Regions from separate parts of the Homo sapiens genome. Here all the other regions are linked to region 4. Evidence: promoter capture Hi-C in 16 types of primary human blood cells and fetal thymus (Javierre and others, 2016). All regions are on one chromosome and are shown on one strand. The core of a region is centred on a gene start or on the middle of the fragment in contact, and the rest is flanking DNA. Distances in the headings are between cores, read along the strand shown. Region 1 overlaps LOC105374568 (a long non-coding RNA gene). Region 2 has its middle 72 kb from the start of TRI-TAT2-1. Region 3 has its middle 22 kb from the start of TRI-TAT2-1. Region 4 holds the start of PLEKHH2 (pleckstrin homology, MyTH4 and FERM domain containing H2). Region 5 holds the start of HAAO (3-hydroxyanthranilate 3,4-dioxygenase). Region 6 has its middle 5.6 kb from the start of TRI-TAT2-1. Region 7 has its middle 94 kb from the start of TRI-TAT2-1.

The links. The method cuts DNA at HindIII sites, captures the fragments that hold promoters and counts their contacts. A CHiCAGO score of 5 or more calls a contact.
Region 1: a fragment that was not itself captured here is called in contact with the fragment with the promoter of PLEKHH2 in region 4 in 1 of 17 cell types (non-activated CD4 T cells); the score reaches 5.0 in non-activated CD4 T cells.
Region 2: a fragment that was not itself captured here is called in contact with the fragment with the promoter of PLEKHH2 in region 4 in 7 of 17 cell types (neutrophils, naive B cells, total CD8 T cells and 4 more); the score reaches 8.5 in neutrophils.
Region 3: a fragment that was not itself captured here is called in contact with the fragment with the promoter of PLEKHH2 in region 4 in 8 of 17 cell types (activated CD4 T cells, total CD8 T cells, monocytes and 5 more); the score reaches 10.7 in activated CD4 T cells.
Region 5: a contact is called between the fragment with the promoter of HAAO here and the fragment with the promoter of PLEKHH2 in region 4, in 4 of 17 cell types (total CD4 T cells, naive B cells, fetal thymus and 1 more). The highest score is 6.7, in total CD4 T cells.
Region 6: a fragment that was not itself captured here is called in contact with the fragment with the promoter of PLEKHH2 in region 4 in 6 of 17 cell types (activated CD4 T cells, naive CD4 T cells, total CD8 T cells and 3 more); the score reaches 7.2 in activated CD4 T cells.
Region 7: a contact is called between a fragment that was not itself captured here and the fragment with the promoter of PLEKHH2 in region 4, in 5 of 17 cell types (neutrophils, naive CD8 T cells, naive B cells and 2 more). The highest score is 6.6, in neutrophils.

What each region holds. Positions count from the first base shown.
Region 1 is chr2:42,920,374-42,923,073 of GRCh38, forward strand. It overlaps LOC105374568 (a long non-coding RNA gene), which reads right to left. Exons shown (of 3, transcript XR_940014.3): 1 at 2,273-2,700; 2 at 1,261-1,303; 3 at 1-850. Among named protein-coding and RNA genes, the nearest start is that of TRI-TAT2-1, 110 kb to the left of the region's middle. The HindIII fragment of the contact is 5,075 bases long and covers 1-2,700 here.
Region 2 is chr2:42,881,608-42,884,307 of GRCh38, forward strand. No RefSeq gene overlaps it. Among named protein-coding and RNA genes, the nearest start is that of TRI-TAT2-1, 72 kb to the left of the region's middle. The HindIII fragment of the contact is 2,382 bases long and covers 108-2,489 here.
Region 3 is chr2:42,831,333-42,834,032 of GRCh38, forward strand. No RefSeq gene overlaps it. Among named protein-coding and RNA genes, the nearest start is that of TRI-TAT2-1, 22 kb to the left of the region's middle. The HindIII fragment of the contact is 3,429 bases long and covers 1-2,700 here.
Region 4 is chr2:43,635,838-43,638,537 of GRCh38, forward strand. PLEKHH2 (pleckstrin homology, MyTH4 and FERM domain containing H2) reads left to right here and starts at 1,423. Exons shown (of 30, transcript NM_172069.4): 1 at 1,423-1,542. RefSeq lists a silencer at 1,327-1,656. The HindIII fragment of the contact is 11,276 bases long and covers 1-2,700 here.
Region 5 is chr2:42,791,166-42,793,865 of GRCh38, forward strand. HAAO (3-hydroxyanthranilate 3,4-dioxygenase) reads right to left here and starts at 1,418. Exons shown (of 10, transcript NM_012205.3): 1 at 1,292-1,418. The coding sequence starts at 1,371. RefSeq lists silencers at 1,265-1,704, 1,885-1,984, 2,065-2,154. The HindIII fragment of the contact is 4,290 bases long and covers 1,192-2,700 here.
Region 6 is chr2:42,814,758-42,817,457 of GRCh38, forward strand. No RefSeq gene overlaps it. Among named protein-coding and RNA genes, the nearest start is that of TRI-TAT2-1, 5.6 kb to the left of the region's middle. The HindIII fragment of the contact is 467 bases long and covers 1,023-1,489 here.
Region 7 is chr2:42,903,615-42,906,314 of GRCh38, forward strand. No RefSeq gene overlaps it. Among named protein-coding and RNA genes, the nearest start is that of TRI-TAT2-1, 94 kb to the left of the region's middle. The HindIII fragment of the contact is 9,825 bases long and covers 1-2,700 here.

The DNA.
Region 1 (2,700 bases), core at 136-2,635, 720 kb before region 4:
AAAGGTATAAGGTTGGGACCAGAGGAAAAGCTGTCACACACGTAAGTCCAGCTCATCTCAATCCAAACCACCACAGACTCACCCCGCCCACTCCTTCTTCTGTCCTCCCACCCCCTCCTTCCCTCTGCTTGGCATGGGGATGGCAGAGCCCACCGGACCTGGGTTTCAGTCTGGTGGTGCCACATGGTCTTGAAGGTACTCTGGCTGTGAGGGGCCGCTCCCATGTTGTCTTCCATCTCTGGGACAAGATGGTAGGTTGGGAGTGGGGAGCTCTGGCCGTTGGAGCCTCTAAGAAGGAGACAAGACACACCTGGGGGCTGGGCTAAGGACTGAGGGGCTCCAGAGAGAACAGGATTGGGGCCAGCTGGCTCCTGCCTTCAGCCCCTCCAGCCTTTCTGGTTTAGGCCTTTCAAAGGCCCCTCACCCTGCCGGCAGAAGGAGAGTCCCAGGTGAGCTGCGTGCAGGGAGCAGGCGAGACATTCGTGCTGTGAGGGATGATTGTGACTCAGCAGGCTCCTGAGGGTGTTTCTTGGGGACTCCACCTCCCTGGCTAGACCTACTTCTGGGCTGGTACCCGGCCCTCCCCACTGGACCCCTGAGCCTTCACTTCTCTCGTGCTAAAGAACATTCTAGGCCCTGAGAATGGCTGGGGGAGCATAGGCCTTTTTCCCAGGGACCTCCCCAACTCGGCTGCTGGCGCATTAGGCAGGCTGTGTGTTGCGTGTCTCCTCCGGTGGCCAGGGAGCCTTGGTAATTAAGACGATGATTTCCACCTCGATGGGCAGTCTCACTGGCCAGGATTGAGGCTTGGGTCACTCTCCGCATCCCAGGTACACAGGGGCTGTCCAGTCTGAGAAGGGAGATAAGGGGGACAGAATATCAGAAACAGAAATGGGGGCCAGATGAATGGGGCAGGGCATCCCAGAGGGGATGGGGCCATCTGCTGGTATCTGAGGCTGGCTGGGCCAAGCCCGTGGGATAGAGTGGAACACCAGCAGCTGGTCACCAGCAATGTCCCCGCCACCAGCAGAGTCAAGGGCAATCAACCAGCTGCATCTGCTGGTCTTATAGAGAACTCACAGCCCTCTCCCTGGACCTTCTTCAGGGAATTCTGGGGACAGGACAGAGGCTTGGACTGGAGTGTGGAGACCAAGAAAAAGCTGGGAATGCACTGGGGTTTGGAGGCAAAGGGGGGTCCCAAGGGCTTCTGCCCACTCTTGCGTGCCTCAGAAAGAAGGGCTGAGAGCTGATGACAGATACCTGAGGACTGTGGCCACTGTGGCTGGATGAGGTGGTGTGTGTCCTACAAAATGCAAAGAGAGAAATGAGAAGGGAGGTGAAATTCGACCTTCAACACCAAGGAAAGGAAAGGGAGTGGGAAAAGACGCCCAGCTTGGGGTTCCTTGTTCTGGACTTGTCCTACTCCTGCTGCCTCAGCACTCAGCCCCTGGAGGCCCCGCTGTGGAAAGAAACAAGAGACTGGAGATGCTGGCTCCCTGGGTTGGACTGGGCAGTGCCTGGGATAACAGCTTCTGTGGGGGTTGGGAATGCCCCTGTAGCATCTGGTCACTGTGCTGGAGTAGACTGGAGTTCATCCCCAGAAGGAAGAGTCATTCCAAGCATCCAGTCATTGCTCCCAGGACTCCCAGTGGGCCATGGAGCTGACACTGGGCCCAAACTAGGGAGGACCCTTAAGTTCTTAAATGTGTCTCCCGCCTGCAATCCTGCCTCTGCACCCTTGCTCCCCACATCCAAGGCCATCCACCATCCTAATCTACTGCCCTCCTTGACGCAAGTTCCCCTCTTCCCGACAGTCTTTGTTGAATGCTCTCCCACATAGGTGTGGGTTGGGAAGGGGTGAGTGGATCTTGAAGCATGCTAAGGTTTGGCTTAGTAGAAAGGGAAGGGCACTGTCCACTCTGCTCACTCCACTCCATCTCCCAGCCTCTTCCTCTCCCCAGGCAGCATTGAAATCTGGGTTCAAACTACTCCAGAGCACCAGGCCAGCACCTCCCTCTCCAGACCCACATCCCTAACAGCCAGCCAGGTACATGGCCAAGGCCAATACACCAGCCTCTCCCTGGATTCCTGCTGCCACCCTTCACTCAGCCAAGCTGTCCACAATCCTGGTATTCATCCTTAACAACAGCCCGGCCCTTGTCCCCCCCATGCTGGTTCATCACAAGCCTCTCTCACTCCCTCCTAAATATTTCTTACAACTGTCCCCTCATCTCCATCCCCCCGGCCCCAAGTCCAAGCTATCACTGCTCACCTGGGTGACAGCCACATCCTCTGAACTTGTTTTGTGTCTGTGCTTTAGTTTGTGCTTTCTGCACATTTTCAGTCGAATGAACTTTCTAAAATGCTAAGCTGCTCATGTCTTTCCTCTCTTTAAAGCCCTGGCAGGCTCCCTACTGCTGACCCTATGAAGCCCTGGCTTCTTGGGCCAGTGGACTTTGCTCCCTGTGACCTGGGCCCATCCCTTCTCCAGCCCCTTCTCTGGCCTCTCCCCATGCTCAAACTTTCTATCCAGGCCTAGTGAACTGCTGGCATGTCCCAGACCTACTAGGCTCTCCCTTACTCCTTTGCACATGCTGTTCTCTGTGCCTGGCAGGCTTGTTCTGGTCACCCGCTCTCAGACCACCTCTGATCTCTTAGTGAAGTCATTCCTGACATTCCAGTTCCCAGATCATCTCATCC
Region 2 (2,700 bases), core at 49-2,548, 750 kb before region 4:
CATTCAAGGCTGCTGTTTCTTTTCACCCTGACTTCCCCTCTGTCACATTTCCCTTCTGTCAAGGGATATCGGAATAACTGTGGCATTTTGGGGATCCAGCTTAGGGAAGCTTGAATTGAGGGATGCATTTAATGTGGACAAATGGGATGTATTTATGTGGGATGCAATATATGTATATAATATTTCATGAGTGTGACTCTCAGTCACTTCCATGTATCATGACAATTATTGGGGAGGATTGGTTTCCAGGAATACTCCTACCACCCATGGTGTTGACTCACCTGGGGTGATGCAGCATGAATGTGTCCTATGGCTCTTAGTACAGGAAGCATGTAGGAAGTGGAAATGAAACAAGATTGAAATGCACACAGCCAGAAGCTGGTCTGTGGAAAAGTCCCTGTAGTCTTACAGCTCATGTTAGAGGTTTACTCCTAATTGACAACTGTGGTGATTAATTCTGTGTGTCAACTGGACTAGGTTAAGCGATGCCCAGATAGTTGATAAACCATTATTTTGGGATGTGTCTGTGAGAGTGTTTCCAGAAGAGATTTATATTTGAATTAGTAGATTAAGAAGACTGCCCTCACCAATGTGGGTGGGGATTATCCAATCTGTTGAGGGCCCAAATAAAACAAAAAGGCAGAGGAAGACAAACTTGTTCTCTGTCTCTGTTTGAGCTGAGACACCCATCTTCTCCTGCCCTTAGACAGTAGTGCTCCTGGTTGTTGGGCTTTGGACTTGGACTGAATTACACCACCAGCTTTCCTGGTTCTCTAGCTTGCAGATGGCAGATTGAGGGAGCTCTGAGCCTCTGTAATCACATAAGCCAACTCCTATAATCAATGTGTGTGTGTGTGTGTGTGTGTGTGTGTGTGTGTGTGTGTGTGTGTATCCCATTGGTTCTCTTTTTCAGGAGAACTCTGACTAATGCAGATTTTAGTATCAATAGTGGTTCTAGGAGAACAGAATTTTAAGGTTGAGTTTCCTGAATTGGTTCTGAGGTTTATGAGACTGGCCCTCTAATCTGATTGTTCATGGTGTTGGCTGTTTATAGAGATATGCAAAATATCTGCATTGGATACTTCTAATCAACCACTTATAAGAAGCAAGGAGCTACGTGACTTCATTTAAGATATTTCAAACATTTTTGGAAAATTGAGGAATATAATGACATTGGTTACTTGGTTACTTGTTTCTAATGTCATTGGACAGATTTGTAAAAGAAAAGGATGAGATCATGGATTCAAATTCCTAGCTCAAACAGTGCATAAAAGATCTTCTAGTTGTGCCCTGAAGGGCAACCTTATTTCAGGACTGAAATTGCTGAAAATCACATGCAAAACAAATCCTGTGACTGACTGAATGACAACTTCCCAGCCTCACATGGTCTCTACTGTTACAGTGAGGGCATTGACTGGGAAAGAATGATATCCTGTGAGTTGGGTGGGTGACCTATGGGAAGACCTTGATGAAGCTGGAGACCTTGAGCCTCTAAGTTCTCATAAGTCTTCTTTACCATGGAAGAGACTGGCCTACGCCCAGTGGAAGTGGCATCCCTACCCCCAGTGAAGTTGCCTACCCACCCTTAGCAAAAGTGGCTTCCTCACCCACAGTAGTGGGGATAAATCTTCATTGCCTGATGAAACAGTAATGGCCACCCCTGAAGCAGTTGCTATATAAGACAGGGCAGATTCACCCCTGGACCCACCTCATCAGCATTCTTTGCTTGTAGACCTATATCTAGACTCGAGTCCCAGAAGCCCCCTAAAGGTAAGGTACATAGTGTGACCCATGAGGAGGTGTACTGCCCCCAAAATAATTCCTTTATACAAGCAGAAATCTGGGGAACATGCATGGGAGTGGATATTGAGAGTGTGGGGTAATGGTGGAAGGAACATAAAGGTGAATCAGGCTGAATTTATTGCTATAGACCCACTAAGCAGAAATTCTGCATTCAATTTTGCAGGTGGGGGAGTTACAAAGGATTCTAACAGTTTGTTTGGCTGAAATATGGATCAAAAGGTAGGCCACCAAGAGTGAATTGGAAATGCCCGAGCTCCCTTGGTTTAACGCAGAGGAGGGGGTTCAAAGACTTAGGAGATTGGAATGTCCAAGTGAATCTGTCATTTAAGACCCCTTCACCCACACTGAGAAGGTCCAGAAGACATACCCTTTACCAGTATTTTGAGGAATAAATTTGTGAGGGGAGCCCCAGCATCCCTGGAGAGCTCTGTGGTCACTCTTTTCTATAGGCCAGACTTCACATTGGAAACCATAGCCACTCAACTGGAAATCTACATGCAACAGGGGGTAATTGGATTCCAAGGTGACAGGGCCAAGTGGCGGCACCCAGCCATCAAATGCAAGGTGGGTGTAGTTACCTTAATGCACAGCAGAGGCAAAGCACCAATCAGAATAATCCGGCTCATGCAGACTAGTATGGCATTGGCTAGTTAATCATGGTGTTCCTAGGAGTGAAATAGAGAAGAAGCTTACTAAGTTCTTTGTTGATTTTTCTAAGCAGAAAAGTTTTAAGTCAAGAGAACAAAAGTGTAACCCAAATCACCAAAACAGAGTCACAGCTCCTCGATCAGTTTTCAGACTTGACCAATTTATAAACCCAGAATCCCTTGAATGGAGGGGAGGCCGAGTCTCTTCAAGGAAGGACTCCCCTACAACATCCAAAATGTATGCTATTAG
Region 3 (2,700 bases), core at 16-2,515, 800 kb before region 4:
CCTCAGGAAGGGGGTCTTACTGGGCAGGGCTGAGGCAGATGGCCACACTTACAGGTACTCACTGGCACATGTGGCTGGATGTGGGGGTGGGGTGGGGTAAATAACCATAGCTACCTCATGTAGTTGTTGCAAGGATGAAATTACTTAATCCTTTCTTTTTGAGACGAAGTCAGGCTCTGTCACCCAGGCTGGAGTGCAGTGGCACGATCTCAGCTCACTGCAACCTCCGCCTCCCTGGTTCAAGCAATTCTCCTGCCTTAGCTTCCCAAGTAGCGAGGATTATAGATGCCTGCCACCATGCCCGGCTAATTTTTGTATTTTTAGTAGAGACAGGGTTTCGCCGTGTTGGCCAGGCTGGTCTCGAACTCCTGACCTCAAGTGATCCGTCTGAGAGACAGGACTAGCTGGATTTCCTAGGCCGACTAAGACTCCCTAAGCCTAGCTGGGAAGGTGACCGCGTCCACTTTTAAACGCGGGGCTTGCAACTTAGCTCACACTGACCAATCAGGTAGTAAAGATAACTCACTAAAAAGCTAATTAGGCAAAAACAAGAGGTAAAGAAATAGCCAATCATCTGTCTCCTGAGAGCACAGCAGGAGGGACAGTGATCGGGATGTAAACCCAGGCATGCGAGCCGTCAACATCTACCCTCTTTGGGTCCCCTCCCTTTGTATGGGAGCTCTGTTTTCACTCTATTAAATCTTGCAACAGCACTCTCTTCTGGTCTGTGTTTGTTACGGCTGGAGCTGAGCTTTCGCTCGCCGTCCACCACTGCTGTTTGCCGCCATGGCAGACCCGCCGCTGACTTCCATCCCTCCAGACACAGGGTGTCCGCTGTGCTCCTGATCCAGCGAGGCACCCATTGCCACTCCCGATGGGGCTAAAGGCTTGCCATTGTTCCTTCATGGCTAAGTGCCCGGGTTCATCCTGATCGAGCTGAACACTAGTCACTGGTTTCCACGGTTCTCTTCCATAACCCATGGCTTCTAATAGAGCTTTAACACTCACCTCATGGCCCAAGATTCCATTCCTTGGGATCCGTGAGGCCAAGAACCCCAGGTCAGAGAACATTAGGCTTGCCACCATCTTGGAAGCAGCCGGCTGCCATTTTGGAAGCCACCTGCCACCATCTTGGGAGCTCTGGGAGCAAGGACCCCCCAGAAACATGTCCACCTCGGCCTCCCAAACTTAATCCTATTTATAGTGTTAGAACAATGCCTATGATATCGTAAATCAGGCTGGATGTGTACTTGCCATTTACATCCACGTATGTGTATGTTTCCATGTGAATACCTGTAGAACTTAATGCCTGACACAGAAGGCACTCAATAGATGCCAGTTGTTCTTATCATTGGACACACAGAAACATAGACACAGACACTTAGATGAGTATATCTTCATAAACAAAGACATAAAGACACCCCTATACCTTTACTAGATACACTTGAATTTACATTTGCAGATGCGGATATACACAGTCACACATCATAATTATAACTAACACCTATTGGTAATTTACTATATCATAGGCATTGTTCTAACACTATAGAAAGGATTATGTAATTTCATCCTTGCAACAACTGCATGAGACAGGTATAGTTATTTACTCCCACATAGAGGTCAATTGAGTCACATAGAGGTCAACTCAAGCTCACAAAGCCAGTAATTGGTAGACTTGGGATTCAAGGCCAGGTAGTCCGGCCTCAGAGCCTGCACATGTAACCAGTGGCAATTCTGCTCACAGACACCCACTGTCTTCCACACAGTCTCAGTCATAGACCTTCACCCAGGCAAAAAGAAATCTCCCACCTACAAGTAGATGCACTTCCATGGTCACAAAACTGACGTGGGATCCTTGCACACACGTGCGGAGCCAGAGGCTCTGTCTGAGCCTTGCAGAAACTCCTAGCATTCAGATTAACTGGTCAAATGTGATAGTGTATTTTCTTGGTGAGTGGGCTTCCAAACAGCTCTGATTCTGCACCTGTCCAGGTGTTAGGTTTATAGCCCCCACTTTTTTGAGGGACTTGGGGAGGAGGCCAGTTCTGTCTTTACCTCTAGTGGCTAAATCAAGTTTTGGCCTTGTCTGAGGGTTTCAGGATCCCTGGTCGTTTCCCCACCTGCTTGTCTTCTGTGAGTGCTGGATATTGCCTGTGGGTGGATTTTTAAAATTTTAATTATTATTATTATTTTTATTATTATTATTTTGAGAAAAGGTCTTGCTCTGTCGCCCAGGCTGGACTACAGTGGCATAATCACTGGTCACTGCAGCCTGGATCTTCTGGGCTCAAGCCATCTTCCTGCCTCAACCTCTCGAGTAGCTGGAACCACAGATGCGCACCACCTCAACAGGCTTAAAAAATTTTTTTTGGTGGGGCATGGTGGCTCACGCCTGTAATCCCAGCACTTTGGGAGGCTGAGGTGGGCGGATCACAAAGTCAGGAGTTCGAGACTAGCCTGACCAACATGGTGAAACCCCCACTCTACTAAAAATACAAAAATTAGCCAGGTGTGATTGTGCATGCCTGTAATACCAGCTATTTAGGAGGCTGAGGCAGGAGAATCGCTTGAACGTGGAGGCGGAGGTTGCAGGGAGCGGAGATTGTGCCACTGCACTCCAGCCTGGGTGACAGAGTGAGACTCTCTCAAAAAAAAAATTGTTTTTTTTTAAATAGAGACGGGGGGTCTCACTATGTTGCC
Region 4 (2,700 bases), core at 173-2,672:
GAGAATGCAAAAAAAAAAAAAAAACCACAAATCCTTGTTTTCAAAGTGCTCACAGTCTAAAAGAGATGTGAGGAGCTGTGCATAAGGCAGAGGGAGCTAAGCCCCAAGAGAGGCAAAAATCTAGATGTTCAGGGAGCAGAAACCAGAGAAGACCTTTTTTTTTTTTTTTGTCTCAGATGGAGTCTTGCTCTGTAGGCAGGCTAGAGTGCAGTGGTGCTATCTTGGCTCACTGCAACCTCCGCTTCCCAGGTTCAAGCGATTCTCCTGCCTCAGCCTCCCGAGTAGCTGGGACTACAGTCGTGCACCACCACGCCCAGCTAATTTTTGTATTTTTAGTACAGACCAGGTTTCACCATGTTGGCCAGGATGGTCTCGATCTCTTGACCTCGTGATCTGCCCTCCTCGGCCTCCCAAAGTGCTGGAATTACAGGCATGAGCCACTGCGCCCGGCCCAGAGACGACATTTCTGCCAGGTGGAGCGACAGACATAGTTACATGGAGAAGATGATGATGATGATGATGATGATAATGATGATGATTTGAGACAGGATCTCGCCCAGTCGCCCAGGATCCAGTGCAGTGGCATGATCGCGGCTCACTGCAGCCTCCATCTCCTGTGTTTAAGCAATCCTCCAGCCTTAGCCTCCTGAGTAGCTGGGACTACAAGTGAGCGCCACCAAGCCCAGCTAATTTTTTTTTTTTGTGTGTATATATATATATATATATATATATTTTTTTTTTTTTTTTGGTAGAGACAGGGTTTCACCATGTTGCCCAGGCTCGTCTCGAACTCCTGGCCTCAAGTGATCCACCTGCCTCGGTCCCCCAAAGTACTGGGATTACAGGCGTGAGCCACTGCGCCCGGTGAGAAGATTATTCTGAGCTTTTTGAAGTGGAGACAGGAAATAGCATGTAAACGCTCCTAGTGCCACTTCCTTCGGGTGGCGAGGTGCACAGCAGTAGTCTCAGGTGTGTGAAGGGCAGCTGTGAGAAATAAACCTGAAAAGACGGGATGGAGACCTTGAACACTAGACTAGGGAATCTGTTCTTGATAATTTAAGCAAACGGAAGCCAATGAAAGTCTTTGGCACACTGTTCATCAAAACTGCTCTTAAGGAAATTAACCTGGCAGGAAGATGAAGGGTGGATTGGCAAGAGGAGAGACTTCAGACTGGGAGACCAAGGGAGGGTGCTGCAACAGTCCAGGCAGACGGAGTGGAATGAAGGTGACCGGCCGCTGCAGCAAGCTCTGGAGTCTCGCAGTTGGGACGTTAGGGGTACCACTCCAGGACAGAGCTCCCTCCTGGGGCAGGGACTGGGAGGAGCCAAAGTTATAGCCACACCCCCGGTGACGCCCGGTGGTCGGCTGTGGTCTCCCATTGGCTACACCGGCTGCCAGTCCCTGGAGGAGGCGGTGCCCTTCCCCGCCCTCTCCGAGCTCGGCTTGAGGCGGGCGCGGGCTGAGAGTCCGGGGATCCCGGGGGCCAGTCGCGGCCGGGACATCGGGCGCTGCGGCCGGGGACCCGCTGCTGAGATAGACAGGTGAGAAAGCCCGGGGACGAGGGGCCACTCCAGAGTTCCTGCCACCCTGGGATCCCCGCCCCCTTGAGGGCGCCCCGTCCAGGGGGGCTCGCGGGGCCGAGGTTTGGGGCGCCGGGAGGAGCGGGAAGGCGGGGACGAGAGGGACGGAGCGGGCTGACTCGGGATCCGCCGCTGCACCTCCCGCCACAGCCCAGAGTCGGCCCCCAAGTCTGGATGTCGCCGGGAGAGGTGGGCAGGGGGCGGTGGCCGGCGGTCCCTCGCGCCCGTGGGCTCCCGTGACGTTCTGTTTGGAAACACTGGGCCCGGGCTTCTGGCGCGGCGCGAGCGGTCCCGGGGGCGCAGCGGGGCAGCCCAGGGTCCCCGAGCCGAGGGACCCGCGCGGTCAGGGATGCCGCGCTCGCCTTAGGCTTCGGGAGATCCACCAGGATCTCCGGGGCGAAACTTTAAACTCAAAACTTTAAAGAAGCATTTTGTACACCTCGAGTTGCTGGCACGTCAAAGCACCCTAAGGTGACCTACCCGGAAACCACTGTCCCCGAAGTTAGTGGGGCACTTTTTAAAGGACAACACTTTTTACCCGTCGATATTGTTGTGCGTAACGCTGTGGAAATAGAAGTCGAACCACTTACATTGGAAAAGCTCTGGTGGTGGGCTACCTGAGGGTCACTGCTTTCTTTGTGAAAATGCCAGTCTTGGAAGCCTGGCCCGCACAGCGGTGTGTCCCAGAGGAGTATGTAGTGAGGAGCTCGGCTGTTCTGGGCAGGGTCACCGAAGGGCAGGCGTTGCCCAAGTGGGGCTAGGTGGCTAGGTGGTGGTCAGAAGGTTCCTTAAACAAGGCATGCCTCAGTCTCGTCGAGAAAGATCTTTTAACACACACACACACACACACACACACACACACACACACACTCACACACACGATTACCCAGCCCAGTTAAGCTGTCCCTTAAGAGGCAAAAACTAAAGAATATCATAGAGACTAACGCTGCGCTTCATCAGGGTAAGCCTAAGTAGAATAATTCTTTCATTTCTTTTTCTTTCCTTTTTGGGATTTGGAAGAGAAACAGGAAGTCAGAGATTCAGAGAAAAGAGCATTCACTCCACAATTGTAAACAGTTTATCTTATGTCAGTAAATACTTCCAAAAATCACTGGGGGT
Region 5 (2,700 bases), core at 168-2,667, 840 kb before region 4:
TATGTCTGGTGTTCTTTTAAAAGAGGGAAATTTGGACACAGACACACACACAAGGAGACTGCCTTGTGAAGACGAAGGTGGAGGTGGGCGTGGTACAGCAGAAGCAAGAATACCAATGATGCCAGCAAACCACCAAATGCTAGGGAGAGGCCCGGGCAGATGGACGCGAGACCTCAGGGGGAGCGAAGGGAGGACTGAGAAGGAGCGACTGCAGATGGGGATGAAGTGTTGGAAGGAGGCAAAGATGATGCTACATCTTTAATTGGGGGTGGGCAACAACAGTGATAGAAGAGATCTTTGGGGAGATATTGACTGTTGGCCATGTGGTATTGCATGGTAACCAAGAGTGTGCGTGGACTCTGGAGTCGAACTGCTCCGTGGGTTGAGTCTGGAGCCTATCGCACAGGCGCTCCGTGACACTAGAAAAGTTACTTATGAAAATCCCCCCTCACGGTGCTACTGTGAGAATGAGATGAGATGATGTAAAAACACTTGGCATAGTCCTGGGCCTGCTGTTTGCCTTGAGGTGCCACCCTACTGACCATGTCCTGTGGACACAGCAAAAATGGGGAATGTAAACCTTGATCTAGCTGGCATGTGGGGCCCCGCCATGGAACTGGGGGGATGAGGGAGGTGACCATACCACAGGGGAGGGCCTGAGAGGTCTGCCTGAGAAAGATGGCAGCTGGATGGCCAACCCTGTTGGGTGCTGCAGGCAGAGGCTACTGGCAGAGGTGGCCTAGGGAGGGTCTGGTGTGGTGTGTGTGTGTGTGTGTTCGTGCACACCTGCATAGAGGGGCCCTGAAAAAAGCAAGACATCAAGATCTTCCCAAAGGAGCGGATTCTCTGCCTCCCCCTTTGCCTGTGGCTTCTGGGACAGGGTTGGGGTGTATGATTTGGCTGCCCCCAGGCCTACATTCTAGTGCATTTCTGCCTTGAAAACCACCCTCCCCACACTTTTGAGTTTTCCCAAAATGCACAGTGTCACTTGGGGTTGGAGAATTGTTTCTCAGCCCTGGAAGGAGAGGTGCACCCTGTCATGTCATCTCCTACAGCCTGAGAACCAGCTCAGCCTTCTTCAGAAGTCAAGGCCACAGTCACAAGAAAGAGGAACAGACCGATGTGGTGGAACCGGAACAGCCTGTCTCCATCTTCCCCCAAGAACCAAGAGATTAAAGCGGTCCTTCTGCAAGCTTCTGGGTCCAGGAACTCGGAGCTGGAAGGTGAGGGCGCAGATGGAGGAGGGGGAGGAGGCGAGGGCAGGGGGCGGCCATGGGGGTGCTGGACTCACATGAGCTTGTTGCAGACCGGGGGCTGGAAGGAGCCCCGGTTCTCCTTCACCCAGGCCCTCACTCCCAGGCGGCGCTCCATGACTGTCCCGGGCGCCTCCTCGCAGCGCTGTCCTCCCGCCGTCGGAGGCCCGCAGCTCCGCCCAGCCGCCTTTTTAACCAGAATCCCAAGCTCACGAGGCGGAGCAAACCCCCGCGACCCCGTGGTGGGGGCTTGGGGCCCGCGGACTTTGCCCCCTGGTGGACTTTGGTCTGAGCCCGCCGCCCTCCGCGCCACTCCAGGCCCTGGCGAGCGCGGCGGCGGCAGCGCTGGGGAACGGCGTCCCGCGCCCTCTGCTTCTCCGCGGGGCAGGGGCTCGGTCCCCGCCACCGTCTCCGGGGCGCCCCACACACTGGCGCCTGCGGTGGGGCCTGCTCCCGGCGGAGGACAAAGAATCCAGACCCTTCCTGGACGCTTGTCCCCAGACGTTCCTTCCCTCTACGCCCCGAGGGGAATCCCAGGGAAGGTTCCCAGAAATACTACAGTGAGGAGATCGCGGGTTGGAAGTCCCAGCACCTGAGAACACGGTGCTGGCGCTGGGCTCAAGATTTGGCTTTCCCATCTGGAAAAGGGGAATGACTGCCCCGCCACTCAGGGCTGCGGCGCTCACCCAGCGGGAAGCCGCACGGCGGTCCCCGCAGGTCCCGATTCAAGGTGAGCCCCAGACCTGCTGCGTGCGGCCGGCAGACTCCGCCGCGGGCTCGGCGAGGGGAGCGGTGCAGGCGCCGAGCTGCGGAGCCCGGGCTCAGGGCAGGACCGCGAGCCCTCCCCACCTGAGGCCCAGCCGAGCGGCCGCTGTCCGCGCAGTGTCGCAGTGGACCCCGAGCCCCGTGCTGAACTCCTTAGGCGTCTTAGGAACATACTCAGTTCGCACGCAGCTATGGGAGGAATTTGGCAGATGTGGACACCGGCCTCAGTGTCCTAGCCCTCGGGAATCTCGGGGTGTTAATGATGACAGCCCCGTGTGAGAGACTCTAACAGTTATCCTGGGGGTGAGGGGCTGGGGCGCTGGGCCTGGGCGTGCATGTGTGAGGAAAGAGAAATCTGCGCGGGTGTGGAAGATGGAGAAGCCTGTCTTTCTGCAGGACTCAGAACTTTCTTAGGAAGTTTGGAGGGAGTGGGAGCTGACGGGTAGGGGAGGAGGAAAATGGCTCAGGCCCCTGACACCGGAATCCAGACTATAGAGTTTAAGAAACTAAACGCCTCTAAATCCTGCCCTCACAGCCCGCCTGGCCTGGGCTGGTTTTCTCAGCATTCCAGACATAAAGACTCCTCTAGTACAACTCAAAATCAAAACCCAGACGACAGGAAGCCGAATTCCCCACTGAGACCCTCCCGTTTCCTCTCTGACGCTCTTTTTTTTTTTTTCAT
Region 6 (2,700 bases), core at 6-2,505, 820 kb before region 4:
AATCTCTTGAACCTGAGAGGCGGAGGTTGCAGTGAGCCAAGATCACACCACTGTATTCCAGCCTGGGAGACAGAGTGAGACCTTGTCTAAAAAAAAAAAAGCCGGGCCATCTGGGGCCCTTATTCCTATATGGCAAGACTGACTGCCCATCTTGGATGTGTATGTGGCTTTCGGTTTGCCACGGTCCCTGTCACTCTCCATTATTCTCCAACACAGAGGTAGGTGCCAGCTGCCTTGATTCACTGGCTTGCTTTGCTGTTTTCTTTATCCCAGGCTCATTTCAGTCATTTGTACCCTACAGATATTGAGTGTGTGGCCTCCATATGGGTAAAGGGAGGGAATCCTGTTGAACTCTCAGTAGGTCAGAACACAGCCAGAGGGCTGTGATCTGTAGAAACAAGCTCATTTAAAATTCAACAAAACGAAACCAAAGCCCAATTCTTTATTATGGAAAATTTCAAACATACACAAAAGTAGAGAGAACAGTATAGTTAACCCCCATGTTTCCACTTTTAAAGAATTGTCAACATTGTTTTATCTATATCCTTCCCACAACATTCACCCCTTACCTCTGGAATATTTTAGAGGAAATCCTAGATATGGTTTAATTTAACCTGTCAAAACTTCAGCATATATACCCAACAGGTAATCACTTTTTTAAAAAAGCATAACCATGGTATCATTATTACACCCAACAAGAGTAATAATAATTACTTAGCTTCATCTCATACCTCATCTGCTTTCAAATTGCTACCCATATCTCTGAAAAATATTTTTACAGAAGATTGGTTTGTTTGAATCAAGATCCAAATATGGGCTGTCCTTGGCATTTGATTGGTGTATCCTTTAAGATATTTAAAGGATAAATCTCTTTTAATCTATTCGAATTTCCTCTCTTTTCACCCCCTTTTATGACATTTCTTTGTTGACCTTTAGAATTTCCCACAGATTTTGGCTAATTGCATGCTCAAGGTTTTCTTCAGCCCCATGTTCTTCAATCCCTCATGGCAATTATATCTAGAAGCTTTATAATATTCAGATTATTTTTCCCCCAAAATATATTCTAGATGGTACTGTGTGCTATTGCACCACAAAAGAAAGTACATAATGTCTGGCTGTCCCACATTTAGAAATATGGCTTTTGATTGATGATTTCAGCATGGTCAGCAGAATCCATCCATTATAAAATCCTTCATCAGCCTCTAATCCTTCATCAGCGTGGTTGGCTGAATCCATCCATTATAAAGTCCTTCACCAGCCTCTAACCTAATGTTTTAGCAGCCGTTGATTATCTTGGTCTAAATCTATTATTTTTATTGAGGATTCCCCAATGGTGCTTTTCTAATTCTATTATTCCTTCTGTATTTATGACTATGGAAGCACAATTCACATAAGAAAGACTGGATAATTTCTTGATTCTTTCTCTTTTTCCACCAATCTTTGATTCCCTAATAATTTCTAAAGATAACCAATAAGTTTTAAATTTTAAAGCTTTTCTGAGTTATAGTTTATGTACAATGAATTGCATTAATAATGTTGAGTAGCTTTTCATATGCTTATTAGACATTAATATATCCTCTTTGGTGAAGTATTTTTTTGTTTTTTGTTTTTGAGATGGGGTCTTGTTTTGCCCCCCAGCCTAGAGTGCAGTGGCATGATATCACAGCCTCAAACTCCTGGATTCAAGCAATCCTCCTGCCTCAGCCTCCCCAGTAGCTGGGACCACAGGTGCAAGCCACCACTCCGGTCTTCTGTCTGCTTTTTATTGAGTTGTTTCTCTTTTCATTATTGGGTTGTAGAGATTTTCTGTATAATCTAGATGTAGTTCCCTTGTTGGATATATAATACGTATATTTTTTGAGACAGAGTCTTGCTCTGTCACCCAGGCTGGAGTGCAGTGGTGCAATCTCAGCTCACTGCAATCTCCGCCTCCCAGGTTAAACCGATTCTCCTGCCTCAGCCCCCCAAGTAGCTGGGACTACAGGTGCACACCATCATGGCCAGCTAATTTTTGTATTTTTAGTAGAGACAAGGTTCACCATGTTGGCCAGACTGGTCTTGAACTCCTGACCTCAGGTGATCCATCCACCTCGGCCACCCAAAGTGCTGGGATTTCAGGCATGCACCACTGTGTTTGGCCTGTGGATATATAATTTGTAATTACTTCCAGTTTGTGGCTTGGGTTTTCATTTTCTAATATCTGTTAACGAGCAAAATCTTAACATTTTGATGAAGTTCAATTCATTGATTTCTTTACCCATTATTGATTGTACTTTTGGTGCTATATCTAAATAACCTTTGTTTAACTCAAGGTCACCAAGATTTTAGTCCATGATTTAGTTCTTATATTTAGGTTTATGCTCCATTTTGAGTTGACTTAATTTTTGTGTATGGTGTGAGGTAAAGGTCTCATTTTGAGGGGGGTTGGGGTATGTGAGTATCTAAATTATGGCACCATTTGTTGAAAAGCTTATTCTTTCCTGATCAAATTGCCTTGGCATCTTATCAAAAACAAGCTGTCCATAAATGTGTTGCTCTATTGCTGTACTATCGTTCTATTCTATTGACCTGTCAGTATGGTGTTATGCCAACACTACACTGTGGTGATTACTGTAGATTTAGAGTAAGTTTGGAAACCAGGTATTATAAGTTCTCCAATTTTGTTCTTCTCTTTCAAAATGCTTTTGGCCATTGCAGGTC
Region 7 (2,700 bases), core at 187-2,686, 730 kb before region 4:
CAATCCTGCTGCCCCCTGCCACTGCCCTGGGACTGACTTTTGGAATCAAAGGTGGAAAGCTGGGAGAAGGAAGGAAGGAAGCAGAAAGGGAAGGAAGGAAGGGAGTGGAGGGGTGGGAGTTAGAAAGCCACCCCTGTCGCAGGGCTGCAGGGAGAAGCTCCCAGGGTTTTATCTGTAGAGGAGCAAACTGTCTGGCACATAGTAAGCACTCCCTGCAAATACGCCAGGGTGGCTGTGGGTCTCATGTGTTGGTTTATCCATTTCTGAGAACCCAGGGGAGGAAGAATGCCTGCTACGCTTGCCTCCCGTCGCTTGGTTGGCCTGAGGGCCAAGAAAACCAGCACAAAAGCTGAACAGTCTGCGCCCCATGGGGGCTCCCCTGGGGTATGGGCTGTTCCAACTGTGCAGGGCATGGATTCACCTTTGCTGTCTGTGAACAAAGCAGGACCAGTGTCAACAGGACACTTGAGCAGCTGGGACTGAGAAGCGGTTTAACCCACTTAGCGAATCTGCTGCTTAGAAACACAAACAAATAACGAGTGTGCTAATTACCAGTGACAACAAGCCTTGATCATTTCAACACCCATCAGTCATCTCATTTAAATCTCCCGACAGCCTGCGAGATAGGACAGTGTTCTTCCTGTCCAGGATCTACAGATGAGGTCACGGAGAGCCAGGGGGGTGAGGAAACTTGGGCAAGTCAACACGGCTGAGCCCAGACTCACACTTAGGCCTGAGCATCACCTCTTCCTGCCTGTTTCCCATCCCATCCACTCATTCCTGGTGGTCCTTGGCCAGCGAGGGAGTTGGTGGTAGTTTGGAGTGTCCGTCTCTCCCGATGGTGGAGTGGTGACCACTGTCTCAGCACCCACAGGAGGGGAGGCCACCCCAGGATAGTCCCAGCATTTGGGCAGTTCAGGTCTCAGGTTCCCCGGGCTATTATGCTGCTGGTGAACTGGGGGCTTGGAGTGGGGCAGGGGCAGGAACATGGGCCTTGGAGTCAGTCAGGCCTAGGATTCCAAACCCAAGCAAGGGCTTAGAAACCATGTGACTCCAGGTGAGTCACCTTCTGTGCCTGAACCGCATTTCCTTCAACTATAAGCTGGTTGGGCAGGGGGTATAATAATTCCAGTTTCTGATAATTGCCTTGAGTAGGTGCACAAGAAATGTTCTTTCATCTCTGTGGCCACGGAGCCCTCACAATCACCCAGGAGGAGGCTGTGCAGCGTGAGGGAGGCCTCTGTCTGATGGTAGGTGAGAAGAAGGCCAAGGGCAAAGGAGGCTGGAAAGGGAATAACATCTCAGCGTCTTCCCCAGCCAGAGACCCCTTGAATGTATCTGCAGCCCTCTGTAGTGTCTCAAGTGCTGGACACACTTAACCCAGGATGGTTGTCAGCCCATTTTACAGTTGAAGCTGCGGCCTGGAGGCAAGGGAGTTCCCTTTACATGCCCAGCTTGCTTTGGGCACTGTGGCACCTTATTTCATCCTGATAAGACCCTATGAGGTAGTCTATATTATATCCATTTATTGCTGAGGCAACTGAGGCTCAGGGAGGAGTAATTGACCCAGGGTCACACAGCTCCCAGATGGGGAAATAAGGTTGATACTCAATGGAATCTAACTACAAAGCCTGTGCTCATTCTGCCCCACCACGAGGACAGGACAAATGCCCTGCTCCATTCTGGATGGACTCCCAGTCCAGTGCTCTTTTCTTGACCCATATTACCCTTTTCTGTGCGGAGCCTTCAGGGGACACTAAGTTAAGAGACGATGGCTGTGCTTTTGCCTTCTCGGGGCCACCCCATTTCCAGTGCGCTCCCACTTGGCTATGGCTTGACTTCCTGGAATGAGAGTGAAAGATCAGTGCCCTGAGAACCCCCCACTGTGCAGCTCAGCCCCACGGCTTTCACATGACCTCTTCCCTGTTTGGAAGAGCTGGCTCCGGTTTGCACAGTCCTTTTTCCCAGCTACGAGTCCTTGCGTTCAGCAGGGCTGCTGGGTGGGTGCTCCTCCGTCACCAGCACCATGGCTTGCACCTGCGCAGGATGGACGCCTGACCCATCAGCCCTGCCTGGGTAGGCCAGGTGCCGCTCTGGATCTAGGAGGCCATCCCCTGGGGCCAAGGTGGTCGCTTCTCCCAAGCGGTCATGTGGTTCAACGCTCTGATTTCTGTGGCCCCGGACGGCGGGTGGAGGACGGGGTGTGAAAGGGTTAATGTAATTTTGGCTGTGATTCCATTTTGGCATCTGCAAGTCAACTTAATAGGCTCTCAGTTTTCCTGTTGCCTCACCGATGAAACAGAAACCAGACCACAAGGGGGTCTGGAGATGTTTAACCGGCGATGCCTCCTGGTGGGCAGCAGGGTCTCCTCCGAGATAGCACCAGAAATGACTGCTAGAAACTCGGCCGTGCTGGGCTTCTGGGTCACCAGGACAAGGGAAGGGGCAGGGAACTGGGGTGCCCTGGAAAGTCCAGCTCTAGGCAGAGGGGAAAGAAGGTGGGTGCAGGGTCCACAGATTCATGCTGGGATCCTGGCTCCCCGACCTTGAGATCTTTGATCCTTAGCCTGCCAGGGGTTTCTGCCTCTCAGGATTCAGTACCTACGAGAGCACTGAGCTTGGCACAGAGTATGTCCAGCTCAATAACTGCCAGCCCTGCTGAACTTCTGGCTTCTCTCTCTCCTGCTCTCCTTCTCCCTG